Linked DNA regions of Homo sapiens: all the other regions are linked to region 1. The links are contacts of gene promoters, found by promoter capture Hi-C in blood cells and fetal thymus (Javierre and others, 2016). All regions are on one chromosome and are shown on one strand. Each heading gives the region's core, a stretch centred on a gene start or on the middle of the fragment in contact. The rest is flanking DNA. Distances are from core to core; before and after follow the strand shown. Region 1 holds the start of ATP6V1G3 (ATPase H+ transporting V1 subunit G3). Region 2 has its middle 68 kb from the start of NEK7. Region 3 overlaps MIR181A1HG (MIR181A1 host gene). Region 4 overlaps NEK7 (NIMA related kinase 7).

Region 1 (2,567 bases), core at 18-2,517:
AGGTATTTAATTACGCAATACAAATTAAGTACTTTATAAGCTGATTAAATGTGACTTCAAAAAAAAAAAAAAAAGTAAAAGTGATCCTGTGGAAAAGTTTTTCCTTTTGAAAATATTTGCTGAAAATGCACACATAATGTAGGCATGCAGATATGGATGAGACAACTTGAAAAGATTAGGAGAAAATAATCATTAAAGCCTTAAAAGATTTAGTGCCCAGATTGTTTTACAATTGTCTTTAAATCCAGACACCTTATTAAAGAAAATGAACCTGGCACTTACATATGAGGCAATAGAGGTATAGTTTATGAAAGCAATAATACGTGAAACCCCAATCTGCAAATCGTATCGGGGGGAAAGCCTTATTCTAAGTCAACAGATTAGCTTTTCACTTCAAATAAAAATTTTAGATACATATAAATGATACTTTGTGGTTCTTCTCTGTGACCAATATTCTGATTTGTCCAATTGCTACTGGATCGAATCAAATCAAGTATGATGGATTTTATTGTATTATCTTAGGACAATACTCACCACAAACACTGAATAATATAAAATGCATGTTTAAATTATTTTAACTTAATCCCAAAACCTACAGTTATAGTCTATTTCTATCATGATTACTACTACTAAAATTACTAATTGTTTAGTCACCATAGTAAGATCTTCCTGGAACTTCAACCTACAGCATTACTTAAGAGCAGCACAATGCCCAAAAGAAATCTTTTTATTCCAGTCACCTGAGACCTTGGGGGAAAAAAATCCTTAGTCCACCATCTATGCACAAAGCTAGGGAATCTCTTTCCTAACAAAAGATTAACACGTTTTCTCCAAGCAGATAACTGAATCACTAGAAACAAATAAAGAAAAAGACCTGAAACAAAGTACTGCAGGTACAAAGAGCAAAGATCTTGTTACTTAAAAGAAAAACTCAGTAAACATGTCAATGTTTCTTGGAAGATTAGGGAAACCAACATTCTTAAAAGGTCTCTTATTCATTATTTATAAGTAGATGCAACACCTCATTTATACCTCCTTATCTCATACAGAAGAGCTAAGATTGGCAGAAATGGTAAGTTCTCAATTTATGCACATTGGTTTAACTTGTTTTTCTAGATTCCACCTTGGGCTTTCCTTGGGACCCAGCTATCCAGCCCAATAAAGCCAGTTTGAAACAGCTGCATTTGGAACTTGCTGTTGACACAATAATCTGAGTTATATGTTAATTTCTAAAAGAATAAATGAACCCATTACTTCCCAGATTTCACAGAAGCCACTTGCTTGGAGCAGACTACCATGACAAGCCAGTCTCAGGGGATCCACCAGCTTCTTCAGGCAGAAAAACGGGCCAAGGACAAGCTAGAGGAAGCCAAGAAGAGTAAGTCTCACCTGTGAGGGGTCTGTCACGAAATAAACAAAGCAGTGGAATGCAGGGATAAGCATAGACTTTTGGATTAGGCAGACCTTGTTTCAAACTTTGGTTTACTGTACTCCCTGTGAGACCTTCACCCATTCATTAAAATTACCCAGCCATATGTTCCTTATTTCTAGAGCAGGGATGAAGTTTCCTCATTCAGATCCTTTTGAGAGGTCATGTGTTCATGGACATTAAGATTATAGAGATGTGGGCTTAAGCCTTGGCTATGCCATGCCTGTTTTCTCAACATTGTTAGGGGGTAGAAAACCTCTGGATTGAATCTACTTATTAGTGAGTAAACCTGAGCAAATTACTTATTTTTTATAAGCATCAGTTTTCATTTCCATAAAATCAGAATAATAATGGCTCATTCTCATCCCTCTCTTGGTAGCTTTTTAACATCTAATATTTTAAAATATTTTCATTTTATTCTCATTTTCTACCTCTCTTTTTATTTTTATTAATTTATTTTTTAAGAGATGAGGGTCTCACTATGTTGCCCTGGCTGAACTCCAACTCCTGGACTCAAGAGATCCTGCTGCCTCAGCCTGCCAAGTAGCTGGGACTACAGGCACTTGCCACTGTACTCAGCTCTCTTTTCATTTGGTCATGCATTCATGTACTTACATATAGAATGTCCTCAATGAACTTCAACACCTTTTCTATTCTCTTTGATACAACAGCCAAATGAATAGGATATTAACATTATTCCCAATGTATGCAGAAATGGAGTCACTGATTTGTTCAAGGTTATATTTTAAAAATAGAAAATATTGTGCCAGGCACCATGCTCATTGCTTATCTTTATTCCTCACAACCTTTACTGAAAAAGCAAAAGTGATGCTTAGAGAAATTATACAACTTGTCTAAGGTCACACAGAGGGTAAATGGTAGAGACAAGATTTAGATGAGCTATAATTTCCAAGCCCAGATCTTAACCACTGTGCTTTACAAAATTTACACAATTTGCATAATAAAAAAATTAATATGTCTCAGATCTACAACTGGAATTCAGATTCCCAAGGCCAAGACATTTTTTTCACTATCCCATTTCATATCACCTCATTATTCAATCTACAATAATTTGTAGTGTCATTCACTCTCCTTGTGTGTCCTGCCTCTGCAATTAGATTCAGTCTGGCAAAACAGG
Region 2 (2,567 bases), core at 28-2,527, 450 kb after region 1:
TTTAAAAAACAGTAGATAGTGCTTTTGTGCTTAAAAGGAGAGCATTAAAATATATTTCATTTGTAGAATGGAAAGATTATGGAGACAACACAGCATTGTTATTTGGGAAAAAGAAATTATCAAAATTTGAAATATGTATATAGCATGATTTAATTTTTGTAATAAAATTGTGTGGAATAAAGGCTAGAATAAAATAACTCAACATGTCAATAGTGTTTCTCACTGAGTAAAGAGATTATAGATGATTTTAAATTTCACTACTATACATTCATCTTTATAATCAGAAATAAATACTATTTTAAGGTATTTCTATTAGTTTTCTAGAGATACCTAATTCAACCATACCTAATGAAATTTGAATCTTCTGACGTTTATATTAATGGAACTCATATTAAGAAAGTATGCTTAGTAAGGCAATAGCCAACTTGTTAAATATAAATTCACACTTGGTAAGAGGTTTAACCTCTTATAATGATGTTTATAAATTATATAATTAGAATCATTTAATATCCACTGTATACTTGAAACAATTTTTAAAAACAGCCTTGTGACCAATTATATTAACTTCATGTTTATATTAATTCTTAATTTTTAAAATAAAAGTCTATAGTTTCATTCCAAGTATCCTCTATAAAATAAAATATATGTACTGATAGATTGAAGAGAACTAAGAAGATAAATCATTTGCTATTAACAAAATTCTAATGCTTGAATCTCTTTTTGATAAAGTATAATTAACTGAATATAATTGTAACAGCCTGTGTCAGTGCACCCCTCTGTGAGTTAGTTCCTCAGGTAATTAATTTGTAGAGCATTTCCTTTGAGAGCTATTTCCCCTCCTACAATTCCTAGACTTTTTCCTTCTACAGAATGGTCAAGATAAACTACTCCTACTCCTTCAGAAGCACTTATGATTCAAGATTACAGAGGAATGTACTTAGAAAAATGTGCAGTGGAAAAAAGTACTTATATGCATACACACAGACTATGGTTACTGAAAAGTTCACTGAGAAAATATGGTGCTTATCAAGCTTACATACCCTCTCAGATGGCTGCCAGGTCAGGCCACTCAGTTCTCTTTTGCCTGGTTCCCCTCTGAAGTCTTGCCCCTGCGTGATGCTTCCAAGCCTCTACACTGCCAGAAATTCAGCCTAGAGAACCATGTTCAAACCATTTATTCAAACATGCTGACTGCCTCAGCATTTGGGCATGTTGTTAATCGCATCCCCTAAAGTTTATTCTCCACCACGTACAACACAGTGAAAAGCCACTAAAAGAAAAAGAGAGAGAGAACCTCTCCAGTCCTCCTGCTAGGACTGCTAAGTTTTTCAGTGCCTTTTCCTACACCATCACTTCTCAGAAAAAAATTCTCTCCACTCTGAAAGTTGGGGCAAGTTTCAAAACCTGGGTAGGTCTCCCCCTAGTGACAAAGTCAATTCATTTCTTCCAAAACACTTCTGTTTTCATATTTGATTATTTCCTAAAATGCAGGAGATAAATATTTTCCAGATTATGAAGCTTAGATTAAAATCAAAAGTGCTATGGAATTCATATGGACATTATTAATGAAAGTCCCGATTACACAGGAAATTAATACCACAATTTCAGCACTAAGGCATAAGTCATTAAAAACTCCAAAAATAGCCCTAAGGAGTTCTGGATTATTAGTGGCTTGGTATGTGGATGAAATCATAACTTAGTAGTAGAAAAATTGTGAAATTAATTCTCCCAACACCATTGATAGGTAGATATTATTCAGTATGTATTTTACTATGTATTATTTATTTATGAGAGTTAAAGAAACAAAGGCTCAGAGAGGCTAGTACAAAGGTGAGCCAGGGATTTGAATTTTGCCTATTGGATTTCCAAGACTTTGAACTCTGCACTGTCCTGTGTTAACCTAACCTTCCATGCCTCCCTACTCTCTGGCCTCCTGTTGTACTGATTCCAGCTGGAAAGTGACCCAGACCACATGCTTTTGGGCATTTTGTTCTAATAATTCCTGTTTACCCTTCAAGTTTATCTTAGTTGTTGCTTCCTCAAGGCAGCCTTCTCTTAACTCCTACGTTCCTATTTTATATAGCACCATGTACTATCTACTATTCCTATCACATTTCTAATCAAATAAAAAGATATATGATTGATAGGGTTTGGCTCTGTGTCCCCACCCAAATCTCATCTTGAATTGTAATCCCCATAATCCTCATGTGTTGAGGGAGGGATCTGGTGGGAAGTGATTGGATCATGGAGGTGGTTTCTCACATGCTGTCCTCTTGGTAGTGAGTGAGTTCTCACGAGATCTAATGGTTTTATAAGTGTTTGGCAGTTTCTTTTTCACTCTTTCTCTTTCCAGCCACCTTATGAAGAAGGTACTTGCTTCTTGTTTGCCTTCTGCCATGATTGTAAGTTTCCTGAGTTCTCTCCAGCCATGCAAAACTGTGAGTCAATTAAACTTCTTTCTTTCATAAATTACTGTCTTGGGTAGTATCTTTATAGCAGTGTGAGAACAGACTAATACAATGATTGAGTGTTGTCTACCTCTACCACCATGTCCTACATACCCCCAA
Region 3 (2,567 bases), core at 43-2,542, 390 kb before region 1:
AAGTTGGATAAAAATGCTACAATACTTCAATTTATTATGACTTGGTGTTTTTTATTCGCCACTTAACATTTTGTAACAATTAAATCCTTTTTACTTTTAACTTATTTCTTTAGGAGAGAACAGTTTTGTACCAATGATTTAGAAGTAATGCTCTCTCATGTGCTTTTATAAGGGTATATCTATGGATTAGATAGTAGTTGAATTAACTTTCGTGTGAGCTAGTTCAGGGTTTGTATTTATTTTCAAGTCTGTTTTATGGGTCTTATACTGGATAGTTACTCACCAAACATGTGCTCAGATTTTTATTAATGCACACATTTCAGTACATTATTTTATTTCACTCCAATAAAGTTTAATACTTTTACCAAAACATATTGCCAGATTTGAGAGGTAGATATAGAACAACTCTGTATACATTCTACCCCTTAACTACCAAGTTTTGATGTGTAATTTAAATTAATCTTCATTAGAATAGAATGACTGCTATACTTACCAGTTTTTACATACCACGTATCTGATACATGAGTTTTAAAATTTTGGAATTTGCTCTTAATACTTCTTCATTCTTGCGTACTAAAAAGCAATTAATCTGAAAGGAATTTCAAAGCATATATGTATAAACAGCACTACGTATATGTCAACAAATTAATAAGATTCATTTTGCCAATGTATTTTGTGACTGTTTTAAAACAAATGAAAAAATGTTTTGTTCTTTTTCTGCTTTCATGTTACTATTGTTAAGAAAAGTATGTAGCTAAAGAATTGACACATTTTGTACTTAGAGAAAACAAGCTACACAAGTTAGATGACAGTCTATAGGGTAAGACTCCACTATGAACTAATAAATAACTTCGTTAAGAAATTCTTGGCCTAACTCTGTAATTTTGACATAAACAGTTCTTCCAACATATAGTGGAAGATTGATGATTAATTATATAATTTCCTTATCAAAGATTAAAATGGGCAAATAGTTGTGTTTAAATTTTACCTACTTTCAAAAAACAATACATGACATTGCCCATTGGGTACAGGTTACTGAAAAGGCATCTTTCAAAGACAAGAAGATAATGGACTTGATTGAAATAGTTGAACTACGTAACGCCAATTCAAGAACAAATGGTTTTTCAGAGCATAACGGAGAAAGAACAATTTACTATAGTACAGTTTATTCTTCTTACACAATGGCAATGATTTATTTGAAATGGCAGAACAAACATAGTAGATATACAAAAACAACCAGTGGGCATTTTATGTCAAAGATATGTCAAGAGGCTTTTGTTTCATATATTAGAATATTTTAATCCAAGTATTTATCTGAAGACTTAGCTTAAATCTACATCGTTGTTTAGCATGTGCTGATATTATGATCATGTATGTCTCTTACATGCATGTAGCATATTTAGTATATATATATATGTATATATATATATAATGTATTTGAATATAGTCTTCTGACCCCAAATAATTGTTGTCACTTTATAATAAGAGTTCTTGAAGACTACTAATGTACTTCAATACAATAAAATTCAGATTGCGATATCAACTAGCTATGTCTATACTACCAGAAGGGCATTATCAGATATTGGATGAATTAATGTATTGATGTTATAATTACCACAAATACCTCATGTCAAAGAAGAATATCAAAAGATATGACTCTAATTTGACAAACAGTATAAAATGTGATTTTTAAAACCATCTCTGTTTCTTACTACCATGAAAATGATTTGCAAAAGAAGACTCAACACTTAAAATTTCTCTTCATGAAAAGAGAATTTTTTTTAACTTAGCCTTTAGGCATAGGGCCTGAAATTATTGTGAGTAGATACCTGAGCACTGTGCAGAGAATGCACAGGAACCTCAAGTTGCGATGAGAAAACAAGGGAAACTGGTTTGGCTGCTTTATGTTTCAAATTTTATTCTTGCAATCCTACATGACGACAATACTCAAAATTAATTTGAGTGAAAACTATCAAAGTTATTTTCACAATTTTCAAAAGATCCACTGTCTTGTTGACACTCTATGAAGGAAAAGTGTTCTAAAAATGATTGAATGTTCTACTGAGTGAAACTCAGTCAAGCTCAGTGAGGCGCTGGGGTCAAATGGGCTCATGAATCACAGATAGGAAATGAACTGTGTATTGCATATTTGAAAGTTTAAAAAGAAACATTTGGGATATTTTACCGTAAACAGATTTTGGTTTGATTTCTGGCACATCTTTTTAAACATCAAGACTGCAGTTCAGCTGAAATAACTTTTTATATGTATAGCTAAGACCAGATGGCCACGTGCTCCTTTCTTATTTAGATGAGACTTTTCCTTTCAATAACATCTTTCTTCCTGACCTGCTTAAAAATTCCAGCGAATGAAATCAGCACAGGATTTTCAATTCTAATTGACCATGTGCAGAGGAAGGGCCAGTAGAGAAATCAGTAGAGGCATTGTGAGGCTCACTGCCTCAGTTTTGTCTTTGTGTTTTACCATTACAAGCCAATCTAGACTAATCAAAAGCATTTAATTTTTATTAATATTAATATAGCTGCAAGATTTGTCTTCAATGAAAATT
Region 4 (2,567 bases), core at 25-2,524, 360 kb after region 1:
CTGTAAATCTACCCCTTCAAGAAAAATCGCACTGAGTCATAAACCAATTGTTATAAAGGATTCTTGTGTCTGAATAGGTGAAACATTCCATACATTTATTTATAATGTGTTTGTCATTTGTGAAAATTGCCCAGTGAATAAAGTCAAATCCTTGCATACTACGAGGGTAGCTAATATGGTGTGAAAAATTACTATTTTCACACTATACAGCAGTAATAACAAAACATTCTTCAAAAATTCTAAAATCTGGCATGTACAAATCTCATTATAAAATCATTTTAAAGAAAGCTGTTGTTAAGTAAACATCCAACTATTAAATGGACCAGATACCACCAACATACATAATGTTCAAGTAAGCCCAGGGTAGGCACCTACATTCCAAGATATCCACTTACAATATTTGTTAGGATAAAACGGAATAAAGGAAAGAAAAAAAATTGTTTTTACATTTTCTTCACCTGTTTCTTGAACCACTTCAGAATTATGAATGACATTAGACCATTAAAAACGTCTCGAGTCACATGCTATATTTATCACCACTGTGTTTCCAGTGCTCAGAACACCATAGGCACATAGCAGGCATGCAAATATTTGCTGAATGAATGAAAATATAATGCCTGCTTAACCCTGTTTCATCTTGATAAACTTAAAAAACATTGGTAAAAAGCTGCCTCTAAATGCTAATTTAGAGTCCAAAAAAAAAGCAGCAGAAATTTGAACATTTGTTGTATCAACTGACTAACACACATGTTTAGGACATTATTAACTAAAATGTTTATTTACTATAAGTCAGAAACATTTCAAAGTATAATATTTAGAGGGTCAGCATGCATAATACTCAATTGGCTGCAATTAAATCATCCTAGAATACCTCCTTCATTGTATCTTTCACTGTATCATTCTTTTTTAAAAAAACATTTCTGATGATTCTTCACAATCTTTACAATAAATTCCTTAGCCTGGAATTACAGGCCCCTATCTATTCAACGGAAATTTACTAAACTCCTCCTTTGAACCAGGCAGGTACTCAGAATGGTTCCATTAAAGAGCTCATGGCCTAGTGGAAGTAGTAGTATTCCGAAACATCTTCCAGAGACATCGCCACATGAAAAATCAAGAAAAATCTGAAGTTTCAGGCTACCAATGTAACCTCTAAAGACGGGTTTTCCAGATGGGAGTTATAGGGTTGATTTTTCATTTCACAAATACCACCATTTTGGCAGCTATAAAGAGAATGAATCAGAACCTCATGCCCCACTTATTTCTGCCAAACTGGCCCATTTTTGAGTTTCAGAAATCCTATTATAATTTCACCTACCACAATGGCCTCCTCTCAAAGCCAAGCACAAATCCCTATGCTTCCATGAGTTCTCATTCAAACCAAAGGAGACATCCCCTTCCTGTAGAAGGCCTATACTATGGTATACTCTAGTGGCACTAAGGGCCTTTCTTATATTGTTAATGACTACTATCAATCGGGATTATGAAGTCCATAACAACAAAGTCTGTAGTAGATTCCTCTGAATCTCCCATTATATCCAACACAGTTTTTTTTCCCATAATAAGCCTTCTCAGAGTACAACAAATAACTGTAATCAGTTGTACTATATTTTACTGAGCCATTAAAGTATGTAAAAATTATAAGTAGATGGTTAGCACGTAATAAAACAAAGAACAAAGAGTTTGAAAGTAACAGTTTCTAAAATCCAGAATACATAAGTAATGTTTCCAAAAAATAATTCCAAAATCCCTGCATTTTTTTCCAGATTAATTACTTTTCATACATGTAGAAATCAATGGCCACAGGCCTGGCAGCAAGAATACAAACCAGAAAACCAACCCCAGGTTGTGAACCATAATCATGGTTTTGGGCTGTAACAGGAAAGCTCTATCTCTCTCTCTCACATGCGCACACACATACACACACTTTTATTCACATCCATTCTCCCTCTCTCCAGTTCAAGGCCTAAGAGATTAAAACACCCTTGTCCATTTAGACACAGAAGCCAAAATAGGTCGACCTACTTAATATTTAATATATGATCTAAATGAAAGAGACAAATTAAGAATGGTGAAAACATTATTAATGTATGTGCAAGAACACCTTTCTAACTGAAAGCTGACCATCATTATCCACATCTCTAATTCTTCTTGGATTTACCATCTTGAAGTAAAAAATATTCATTACAGCCAACTATTGAGAAGATGATTATTCTGATGCCCTGCTATTCACTTCTACCTGTTGCCTACCTTTTTTATTATTTCACTCTTTATTTCCATCAACAGAGGTAAACCTGAAAATATCTACGCATATTTGAACATATCAAGTATATAAAGCCATTTTAAAATTATATATATATATCACTTTTTTCTATTAAAACAAGAAAAAACAGAATCCTAACAAATGAAATCATTTCATTAACTGACAAAGTTTAATGAAGTTTCTCCTTCAATTCAACCACTTACCCTCACATGTCATTTTTAAAGAAATGATTTGCTTTACTCTGTCAAATGTTAACAAAACACATTTTAAATTGGGTTCATAGATTAGTCCATCATCCAGTGAA

Evidence for each region. Contacts are between HindIII fragments. The CHiCAGO score rates a contact against its expected background, and 5 or more counts as called.
Region 2: a fragment that was not itself captured here is called in contact with the fragment with the promoter of ATP6V1G3 in region 1 in 1 of 17 cell types (naive CD8 T cells); the score reaches 5.9 in naive CD8 T cells.
Region 3: a fragment that was not itself captured here is called in contact with the fragment with the promoter of ATP6V1G3 in region 1 in 1 of 17 cell types (non-activated CD4 T cells); the score reaches 6.5 in non-activated CD4 T cells.
Region 4: a fragment that was not itself captured here is called in contact with the fragment with the promoter of ATP6V1G3 in region 1 in 1 of 17 cell types (activated CD4 T cells); the score reaches 5.4 in activated CD4 T cells.

What each region holds. Positions count from the first base shown.
Region 1 is chr1:198,539,380-198,541,946 of GRCh38, reverse strand. It overlaps ATP6V1G3 (ATPase H+ transporting V1 subunit G3), which reads left to right and starts at 1,267. Exons shown (of 3, transcript NM_001376861.1): 1 at 1,267-1,378. The coding sequence starts at 1,297. The HindIII fragment of the contact is 10,140 bases long and covers 1-2,567 here.
Region 2 is chr1:198,087,371-198,089,937 of GRCh38, reverse strand. No RefSeq gene overlaps it. Among named protein-coding and RNA genes, the nearest start is that of NEK7, 68 kb to the left of the region's middle. The HindIII fragment of the contact is 487 bases long and covers 1,034-1,520 here.
Region 3 is chr1:198,932,236-198,934,802 of GRCh38, reverse strand. The region is part of intron 1 of MIR181A1HG (MIR181A1 host gene); the gene reads left to right. Among named protein-coding and RNA genes, the nearest start is that of MIR181A1HG, 3.9 kb to the left of the region's middle. The HindIII fragment of the contact is 5,909 bases long and covers 1-2,567 here.
Region 4 is chr1:198,181,777-198,184,343 of GRCh38, reverse strand. The region is part of intron 1 of NEK7 (NIMA related kinase 7); the gene reads right to left. Among named protein-coding and RNA genes, the nearest start is that of NEK7, 26 kb to the right of the region's middle. The HindIII fragment of the contact is 5,128 bases long and covers 1-2,567 here.